2 separate regions of the Homo sapiens genome follow, and region 2 is linked to region 1. Evidence: promoter capture Hi-C in 16 types of primary human blood cells and fetal thymus (Javierre and others, 2016). All regions are on one chromosome and are shown on one strand. The core of a region is centred on a gene start or on the middle of the fragment in contact, and the rest is flanking DNA. Distances in the headings are between cores, read along the strand shown. Region 1 holds the start of TXNDC8 (thioredoxin domain containing 8). Region 2 holds the start of LOC105376218 (a long non-coding RNA gene).

What was found. The method cuts DNA at HindIII sites, captures the fragments that hold promoters and counts their contacts. A CHiCAGO score of 5 or more calls a contact.
Region 2: a contact is called between a fragment that was not itself captured here and the fragment with the promoter of TXNDC8 in region 1, in 3 of 17 cell types (M2 macrophages, M1 macrophages and erythroblasts). The highest score is 5.7, in M2 macrophages.

Annotation. Positions count from the first base shown.
Region 1 is chr9:110,336,083-110,340,531 of GRCh38, forward strand. It overlaps TXNDC8 (thioredoxin domain containing 8), which reads right to left and starts at 1,781. Exons shown (of 6, transcript NM_001424031.1): 1 at 1,691-1,781. The coding sequence starts at 1,714. It overlaps LOC124902245 (a long non-coding RNA gene), which reads left to right and starts at 122. Exons shown (of 2, transcript XR_007061728.1): 1 at 122-2,155; 2 at 2,443-2,560. The HindIII fragment of the contact is 4,418 bases long and covers 618-4,449 here.
Region 2 is chr9:110,612,981-110,617,429 of GRCh38, forward strand. It overlaps LOC105376218 (a long non-coding RNA gene), which reads left to right and starts at 1,065. Exons shown (of 3, transcript XR_007061731.1): 1 at 1,065-4,272. RefSeq lists an enhancer at 4,309-4,449. The HindIII fragment of the contact is 551 bases long and covers 2,321-2,871 here.

The DNA of each region.
Region 1 (4,449 bases), core at 531-3,030:
CCATGTCAGACATGCCTTTGCCCCTCCTTCGCCTTCACCATGATTGTGAGGTCTTCCCAGCCATGTGGAACCGTGAGTTCATTAGATCTTTTTTTCTTTATAAATTACCAAGTATTGGGCATTTCTTCATAGCAGTATGCAAATAGACTAATACAACATGCCTGCTCTATAATAGCCTTGACAATTATGTGGCTACTTTGTTTAGTTTCAATCAGGTGAAAGTGATGACTCAAAGAAGATGCACTCTCTTTCTTTATCAATATTCCTCTGGGAGGGAGTAACTAACTTTTCAGAGAACCTTGCCAAGCCTTTATTTCTCACTTGCTTCTGAAGTTGTAAGGTAGATGCTATCCTCACAAACTCCCAACACTCTTCACTTTCCAGTAGTTGTTGTTTGGGTGTGAGCTGGCCTAATTGGACCCATGAACTTGACTTGACTAAACTATCTGAAGGGAATACTCTCATAGTATAGGTATTTATTTAACATATGCGTATTGAGGCCTATACTATGCCAGCTACTGCACAAACTGCTAGGATACCACTGTGGACAAAAACAAAACAAAACAAAACAAAAACTAGGCATTCTGTCTCCATGGAGTTTACATTTTAGAATGGGAAGCTTACTATAAGGTCAATAGGTAATATTTGTAGTATATTAGTGCTAATTGCTAATAAAGAAAATAAAAAGAAAATGAAGTAGGAAGGAAGAATGGGGGTTGGATTACAACTGTAGTCTGGATGGCCAAGGTCAACCTCAAAGAGAAGGTGGCATCTGAATAAAGATGGGATGGAGATCAGGGCCTCTGGAAAGGTCCCTGGGGAGGAGATGAAAGGTCTTCTGAGGGAATAAGGCTCCAGGCTATTCTGTGACATCCCCAGAATATTAAAACAATAAGTGTCAAAAGCATTAGCAAATGTGTGATGTTTCAAAACATGTTCTTATGTCGAAGTTACAGGGCAGTACTCTCTTTCAATCTGGTCAGTGTCATTTTTGTGATCTGTATAGCCACCTTTGGGGAAAATGTCACAAGTCTAAATCTGAGGCTGCTGGTGGACATGAGGCTCAGGCCCCAAACCCCCTCCCCTCCTCCAGCTCTTGACTTCTTGTAATGAGGGCAGGCATCAGAAGGTCTGGGTTCTAATGCCCACACCACCTCTTAAACGAACTAGCCCTGAACCTCTCTTTTAGAGGCAATTTTCTCCTTTATAAATCAAGAATTATCTCTGTCCTATACATGAATTTAGATTTGTTGTGACAGCAACATTGGGCTGTTCCCAATTTTCCCACCCCATTCCACATCTGGGGTTTCTATTATTTTTCCTTGGATAAGAGAAAAGATGTGGACTTCCTTACTTCCATGGAATTTTCCAAGCACAACTGAGGTACGATCCATGGGATCAGATACAGGATGGGATGTACTAGGAGCTGGTCTGGGATTCACCTGAAGTCAGGCAGGAAATAAAAGTCCAGGAGGAAGAAAGCCCTTCTTTATCAATTTGACCCTTGGCTGCTTTTCTTGATAGTACCATCCCTCAAGGAACAAGATAAAGAACAAGAATTTAGAACTCTCCCCTTGCTACAATGCAATGATAGAATACTGGATAGAGAGAACACATTCTTAAAGTTTTTCAAATCTGTTCCCAAGATGTCCACATTTGAAATACTCAGTGAAGCCAAATAAATACTTGCCGTGTCTTTAATAATCTGTACCATGATTACACCAGGGAAGTGCTGATGAAAATCCCCTGTTGGTTTAGTTGGATCACTGTAGCTGTCTCCTATTTATTACAGTATCCTGCCTGGAATACATGGATAACTTCTCTATGACATCATTAAACATGTCATCTCAGAACCTGGAACTTTGGCAGACTTTGGATCCTATTTCACTTTTATGCCATGACTAGTTCATTTGTGGACAGCCAAGAATCAGAAAACTGAGGGCTTTATATGCAGAATCAGTAATGTGTTTGCTTTATTTTCATCTTTTATAACCTATTTCTAAATATCCTTCTCCCTTCTCTAATCCCTCCATCCCATCACCAAATGAGAAGTAAGCAGAGTAATATTAAATAGATGAGATTTTCACTTAAGAATTTGAAGATTTTGCTGTTGAGAAAAATACTAAAGTCTTAACCCTATAATAATGAGTTTCCTGTAAGTTTGATTTCATGAGTCATAAATTCCCTGAACTTTGTTATTTTGCTCTAATTATTTAGAGAGTAAAGAAATGTCACTTTTATGCTCTAGATCAAGGGTTGGCAAATGTTTTCTCTAAGGGAACAGATACTATTTTAGTTTTATGGGCCTCATACAGTCTTTGTTGCATGTTCCTTATGTTTTTGCAACCTTTAAAAAATGTAAAAACCATTCGCAGCTAGTAGGATGTACAAAGAACAGCAGCAGTTTGCTGACCCCTGCACTTGATGATTTGCCATTTTCAGAACTGATGTCAGAAAAATTCTGAACATGACCATGGCCAATGTTCTTCAAATCTACAGAGCAACAAGAACAACCAAAATGAGAAATAGTAGATTCTATAATAAAACAAAAATAGCAAAATCCTTCTTTCTGTTTTTCTATATATGCAGCTCTGGGCCTTCAATCATGTGTTGCATGAAAACTGTCAGATGGAGACAGTGGCTGCCTCTGTAGAGGTATTTGAAGTATGCATGTAACAAAATATCACATGTACCCCATAAATACGTAGAAGTATTATGTATTGATATGGTTTGGCTGTGTCCCCACTCAAATCTCATCTTGAATTGTAGCTCCCATAATTCCCAAGGGTTGTGGGAGGGACCGGTGGGAGATAATTGAATAATGGGGGCAGTTCTTCCATACTGTTCTCATGGTAGTGAATACATCTCATGAGATCTGATGGTTTTATAAGACGTTTCCCCATTTGCTTGGCTCTCATTCTCTCTTGCCTGCTGCCATGTAAGACGTGACTTTCACCTTCTGCCAGAATTGTGAGGCCTCCCCAGCCACATGGAACTGTGAATCTATTAAACCTCTTTTTCTTTATAAATTACCTAGACTTGGGTATGTCTTTATCAGCAACGTGAAAAGAGACTAATACACGTATTAACAAAAAAATTTTTTTTATTATAGTTTAAGTTTTAGGGTACATGTGCACAATGTGCAGGTTAGTTACAAATGTATACATGTGCCATGTTGGTGTGCTGCACCCAGTAACTCGTCATTTAACATTAGGTATATCTCCAAATGCTATCCCTCCTCCCTCCCCCCACCCCACAACAGGCCCCGGTGTGTGATGTTCCCCTTCCTGTGTCCATGTGTTCTCATTGTTCAATTCCCACCTATGAGTGAGAACATGCGGTGTTTGGTTTTTTGTCCTCGTGATAGTTTGCTGAGAATGATGCTTTCCAGCTTCATCCATGTCCCTACAAAGGACATGAACTCATCCTTTTTTATGGCTGCATAGTATTTCATGGTGTATATGTGCCACATTTTCTTAATCCAGTCTATCATTGTTGGACATTTGGGTTGGTTCCAAGTCTTTGCTATTGTGAATAGTGCCGCAATAAACATACATGTGCATGTGTCTTTATAGCAGCATGATTTATAATCCTTTGGGTATATACCCAGTAATGGGATTGCTGGGTCAAATGGTATTTCTAGTTCTAGATCCCTGAGGAATCGCCACACTGACTTCCACAATGGTTGAACTAGTTTACAGTCCCACCAACAGCCCAAAAGTGTTCCTATTTCTCCACATCCTCTCCAGCACCTGTTGTCTCCTGACTTTTTAATGATCGCCGTTCTAACTGGTGTGAGATGGTATCTCATTGTGGTTTTGATTTGCATTTTTCTGATGGCCAGTGATGATGAGCATTTTTTCATGTGTCTTTTGGCTGCATAAATGTCTTCTTTTGAGAAGTATCTGTTCATATCCTTCGCCCACTTGTTGATAGGGTTGTTTTTTTCTTGTAAATTTGTTTGAGTTCATTGTAGATTCTGGATATTAGCCCTTTGTCAGATGAGTAGATTGCAAAAATTTTCTCCCATTCTGTAGGTTGCCTGTTCACTCTGATGATAGTTTCTTTTGCTGTGCAGAAGCTCTTTAGTTTAATTAGATCCCATTTGTCAATTTTGGCTTAAAAAATTAAAAAAGGTACTTGAAGTATTTTCAATGTCTTTGTTCATTGCTTGTTCTCTCTCGTTTTCACTGGGATGCATCCTCCATCACAGCCAGAAATTTTATTCATGCTTATATATTGTAGAGCTTATCCTCATCTATTTCTCCTCCATCTTTTCTCTCATTTTCATTCAAGAAGGAAAAATGGATGTTGACACAAACTGAACATCTTCCAAGCAGGGTTTCTTAACCACAGCATTTCTGACGCTTTGGGCCAATAATGCTTTGTTATAGGGGGCTGTCCTGTGCATTGTAGGCTGTTTAGCAGCATTCCTGACTTCTACCCACT
Region 2 (4,449 bases), core at 1,346-3,845, 280 kb after region 1:
GTATACAAAAAGTTGGCCCTCATGATTTGCAGGGTTTAGATCTTCAGTACTGTATTTTCGATTCACATCTGGTTGAAAAAAGTCTGTGTATAAGTGGACCCACACAGTTCAAACATGTATTGTTCAAAGGTCAACTCTAAAAGCCTATTTTTCTACTTTTAAGTTCTTTAAGTAAGTAGAATTATCAAAAGCCAAAATTATAATATTGTCTGGTGGGGGTTTCCATGTGAGTAAATGAATATATATTATATATATAATATGCACAGATATTATATCATTATTATTATATTATGTAATATAATTATATGGCCATAGGCAAGTTGCCTCACCTCTCTGAGTATTGGTGTTTTCATTTATACAACAGGGATAGTAATCCTAAGCCTAACCCTAATATTATATTAACATAACTAATAATATAATATTATATATAAGTATTATATTATATATATTATATATATTCACTACATAAAGAAGAGAGCATAAAGGGACCAGGTAAGATTTCTACATTTCTATATGTTCTAATTAAAAAACAGACTATCAAATTCAATTTTTAAAAAGACAATTATGTGACTACAGGAAACACATTTAAATATAGATATATAGATAGATAAAATAAGAGAAAGATAAAAGATACATCATGAAAACACCAATCAAAAGAATACTGGAGTTGCTTTATTAATATCAGATAGAATAGACTTCAGAATTAAAAATATTATCAGGGATAAGAAAAGACATTAAATACTGAGGAAGGGGTGAATTGTCCGAGAATATGTAATAATCCTAAATGTGTATGCTCCTGACAACAGGCATCAAACTATGTGAAGCAAAAACTGAGAGAACTGAAAGAAGAAATAGGAAAATTAACAAATCTATTTGAAGATATCTACACTCAGGAATTAGAAGAACTAGACAGAAAAATCAATAAAGATATAGAAGACTAAAACAACACTAGTTGACATTTATAGAATACACCACCCAACATTAGCATAATACACAATATTTTCAACTGTTCATGGAATATTCATCAAGAAAGACCATATGCTGGGCCATAACACAAGCCTTAATTGATTTACAATAATTGGAATCATGCAAAGTATGTGCTCTAACCTTTAAGGAATTAAATAGAAATCAATAACAGAAATACATCTGGAAAATCCCAAAATATGTGGAAATTAAAAAATCCATGAGCCAAAGAGAAAACCTCAAGGGATATTAGAAAATATTTTGAACTAACTAAAAATGAAAATACAACATATCATAATTTATGAAATACATGAAAAGATCATTAAATGCTCATATTAAAAAAGAAGGAAGGTCTCAAATTTGTTAGCCTCTTAAGAAACTAGTAAAAAAAAAAAAAAAATCAAATTAAACCCCAAACAAGCAGAAGGGTAGAAATGATATATATAAAAACAGAAATAAATGAAGTGGAAAACAGAAAAATAGTAGAGAAAAATCAATGAAACCAAAAGGTGGTTCTCTAAGTAAAACTCTATGCAGACATTCTATGGGTGGTGGGTATTATAAATAAAGTTTCGGTACCGCAAAAGAAATAGCACTCGAATATAAAATTTTCTTTTTAATTATCAGCAAGGCAAGGTACTTCTATAGAAGGGTGCGCCCTTACAGACGGAGCAATGGTGAGTGCACACCTGGACAAGGGAGGGAAAGGGGTTCTTACCCCGACACACATGGCCTCTGATGCTGTGTCGTTCCCCTATTGGCTAGGGTTAGACCGCACAGGCTAAACTAATTCTGATTGGCTACTTTAAAGAGAGTGACAGGGTGAGTGGTTTGGGAGGAAAAATGGTTATGACAGAGCAGTTAATCGGAATGAGTGAGGGTGGAGTAGGTAATCGGAATCAGTCATGGTGGAGCAGGTAATCAGAATGAGTCAGGGTGGAGCAGGTGATTGAAATGAGTCAGAGTGGAGCAGGTAATCGAAAAAGGTTGCTTTATGAGGAAGTTAAGTTTAAAAGTAGAAGGCAAAGAATTGAACATACTGACATATTGATTCTTTGAAAAGAAATTTAGAACTCATATCTAACATGGGAGAGTGGGAAGAGGAAGAAGATACAAATGACCAGTACCAGGACTGAAAGGGAGATATCACTGCAGACCCTACAGACATTAAAAAGGCTAATAAGGGAATACAATAAACAATTTTATGCATACAAATTCAACAGTTTAGATGAGATGGACAAATTCCTTGGAAATTATAAATGCCAAAAGTCACCCCAAACTGAATTTTTAGTGACTGGAGGCATTTATCTCAGTGGACTCTCCAGACTTTATTCAAAGCCATTGCCTGCTTCCATCAAGCTTAGTCTTGAATCTTTACCAATGTTTGATTTATTCCTCTTACTTTTTTTTCTATTAACTTTGAATACCATCCCTCCTCCTTTCCAAGACTTTATTTATTGTGAGTGATAATTGACATAACCTTCAGGAACCTCAGAAACCTTAGGCATCTGCAGAAACATTTTGAAGCATATCAGACTAGCCTATCTTTCTAGAAACCCGATTCCCATTCCCCTCTGCCAAACCCCTCAGCGGCGATGTGTATACTTTGTATTAGTGCATATTCAGGAAGGTTCAAAGCACTTGTCTGCTACTCTTTGCATGGCCACACCCTCAGTCAAGGGCCTTTCTGCTTCCAGCATCATTACAGATGGATTTGAGGCTTTGGGCTATCTCCAGGGGAGCCATCTCCTCCAGGTTTTTGTTCCCTTTTCTGACTCAGAACTTAACCATTCTGGCAAAACTTTCTGTGGTGTGGCCATAGTTACAGTACAGCGTTTGCATTCTATGGGTCTTACAACACTATCCCCCAAATCCACCAATTTTCAGTAGCATGTAGCTTGTCTCATAAGCTTTATTTCCTGCTTTAAAGGATGAACAGTCCTCAGAGGAACCAAGTTCCTTGCCCAAATAATTTTGGCAAGGCTAAGACACTGAAGGACATCTATACGCCTTGTTTTCTCATACATCTTAGGCCTGTAAATTCTGGTTTATGGGTTCACATCCAGAGTCCCTCCTTTCTTTCCAGCTTTCCAATTAGTTTCTGTTAATTTATATGGTAGAAAATACATATTTCAAAGACGTAGTTCTTAGCTCTGTCTCAAAGTGCTTAAGCAGTTTTTATCAATTTCTTCTTATTTGGGAGTGGTATCCCCAAGCTAATACCGCCTGTGAGGGAAAAATATATACTCTTAGGCAACATTTTGCTAGTAGCTTGATAATCATAAGAGTGTCTTCTTGCTAGCAATATTTTGAGTACAACAGCAACAGAGTGTGCAATGGATTCACTGGTTAAGCCAAAAAGTTATAATGTTTGAACCTCCCAAGGGCCACCTCCATATTTAATATGAATTTCTTTAAACCACCAGAGCTGGGCCTCATTTCTCCCATACTCTGTGGGAGTTCTGACTTTCATCCAAGATCTTCCCTATGACTTTAAGAGCAGAAAGACATGGTCCTTGTGGTGTCTCCCAAACTGGACTCCTCTTAGTTACAAGTGGACTATGACTGACTTATTAAAATGATCCTCATCTTTCCAGAAACACTTGAATGCTGCCACCAGTATATTTTTTAGCTGAGACCTTCCTCTTCCTTTTTTCCCCATAACCAGAATCTGTGGTCTGTGCTAACATTGCTTCTCCATGAAAATTTCACTCCCACTCCACTCTTTCTACCTTTCTGCAGATGCCTGCACTTTCACCGCAAATCATGAAATGATTACATATTTTTAACAGCATTATTGAGATTAAATTTATTTACCATAAAGCTCACCCAGGTAGCAGTGGCTGCCAGCTATACCCTTTCATAGAATTAGCCTTTTCTTTAGGCTTTGCTCTTCTCAAAACAAATACTTCCCTTTTTGTTCTCTTGTTTCCTCTTGTAAGTCCCTAGGATTATTAAACATAGGGCTTGAATTTCACTTTGAAATGTTTTCCACGTTTGTGGTAATAATGTCACCTGAGGGTTTCTACTAGATTAAGTAAAGGAAGAAACAGAGTGGGAGGGGAATGAAGTGTGACAAACTCTCTTATAAAAGATAAGGCAAAAATGGCAGTCAATTATTGTTTCTGATAAATGTAATGTCATCCAATAATTTATAGTAATTCTGAGAACTATAGCCAGTAAAATGAATTTGCATAGTCTGTCTTCTTTAGGACACTGATTTTCAAACTTGAATGCACACTGGAATCACCCGAGGAATTTAAAAAAACACCGACACCTGGATCCCACACAAGGACCCTGATTTAAATGGTATGAATTGCAACCTGAGCATCAAGATTTTTTAAAGTTCCCTAGGTGATTCTATTGTGCTACGAAGTGACTCTTTTACTGCAAACTTGTTAGCATGATCAGAATCACCAGGGGAGTTTGATAAAATAGATTGCTAGAGTTTTTGATTCAGTACATTTGGGTGAGACCAGAGAATTT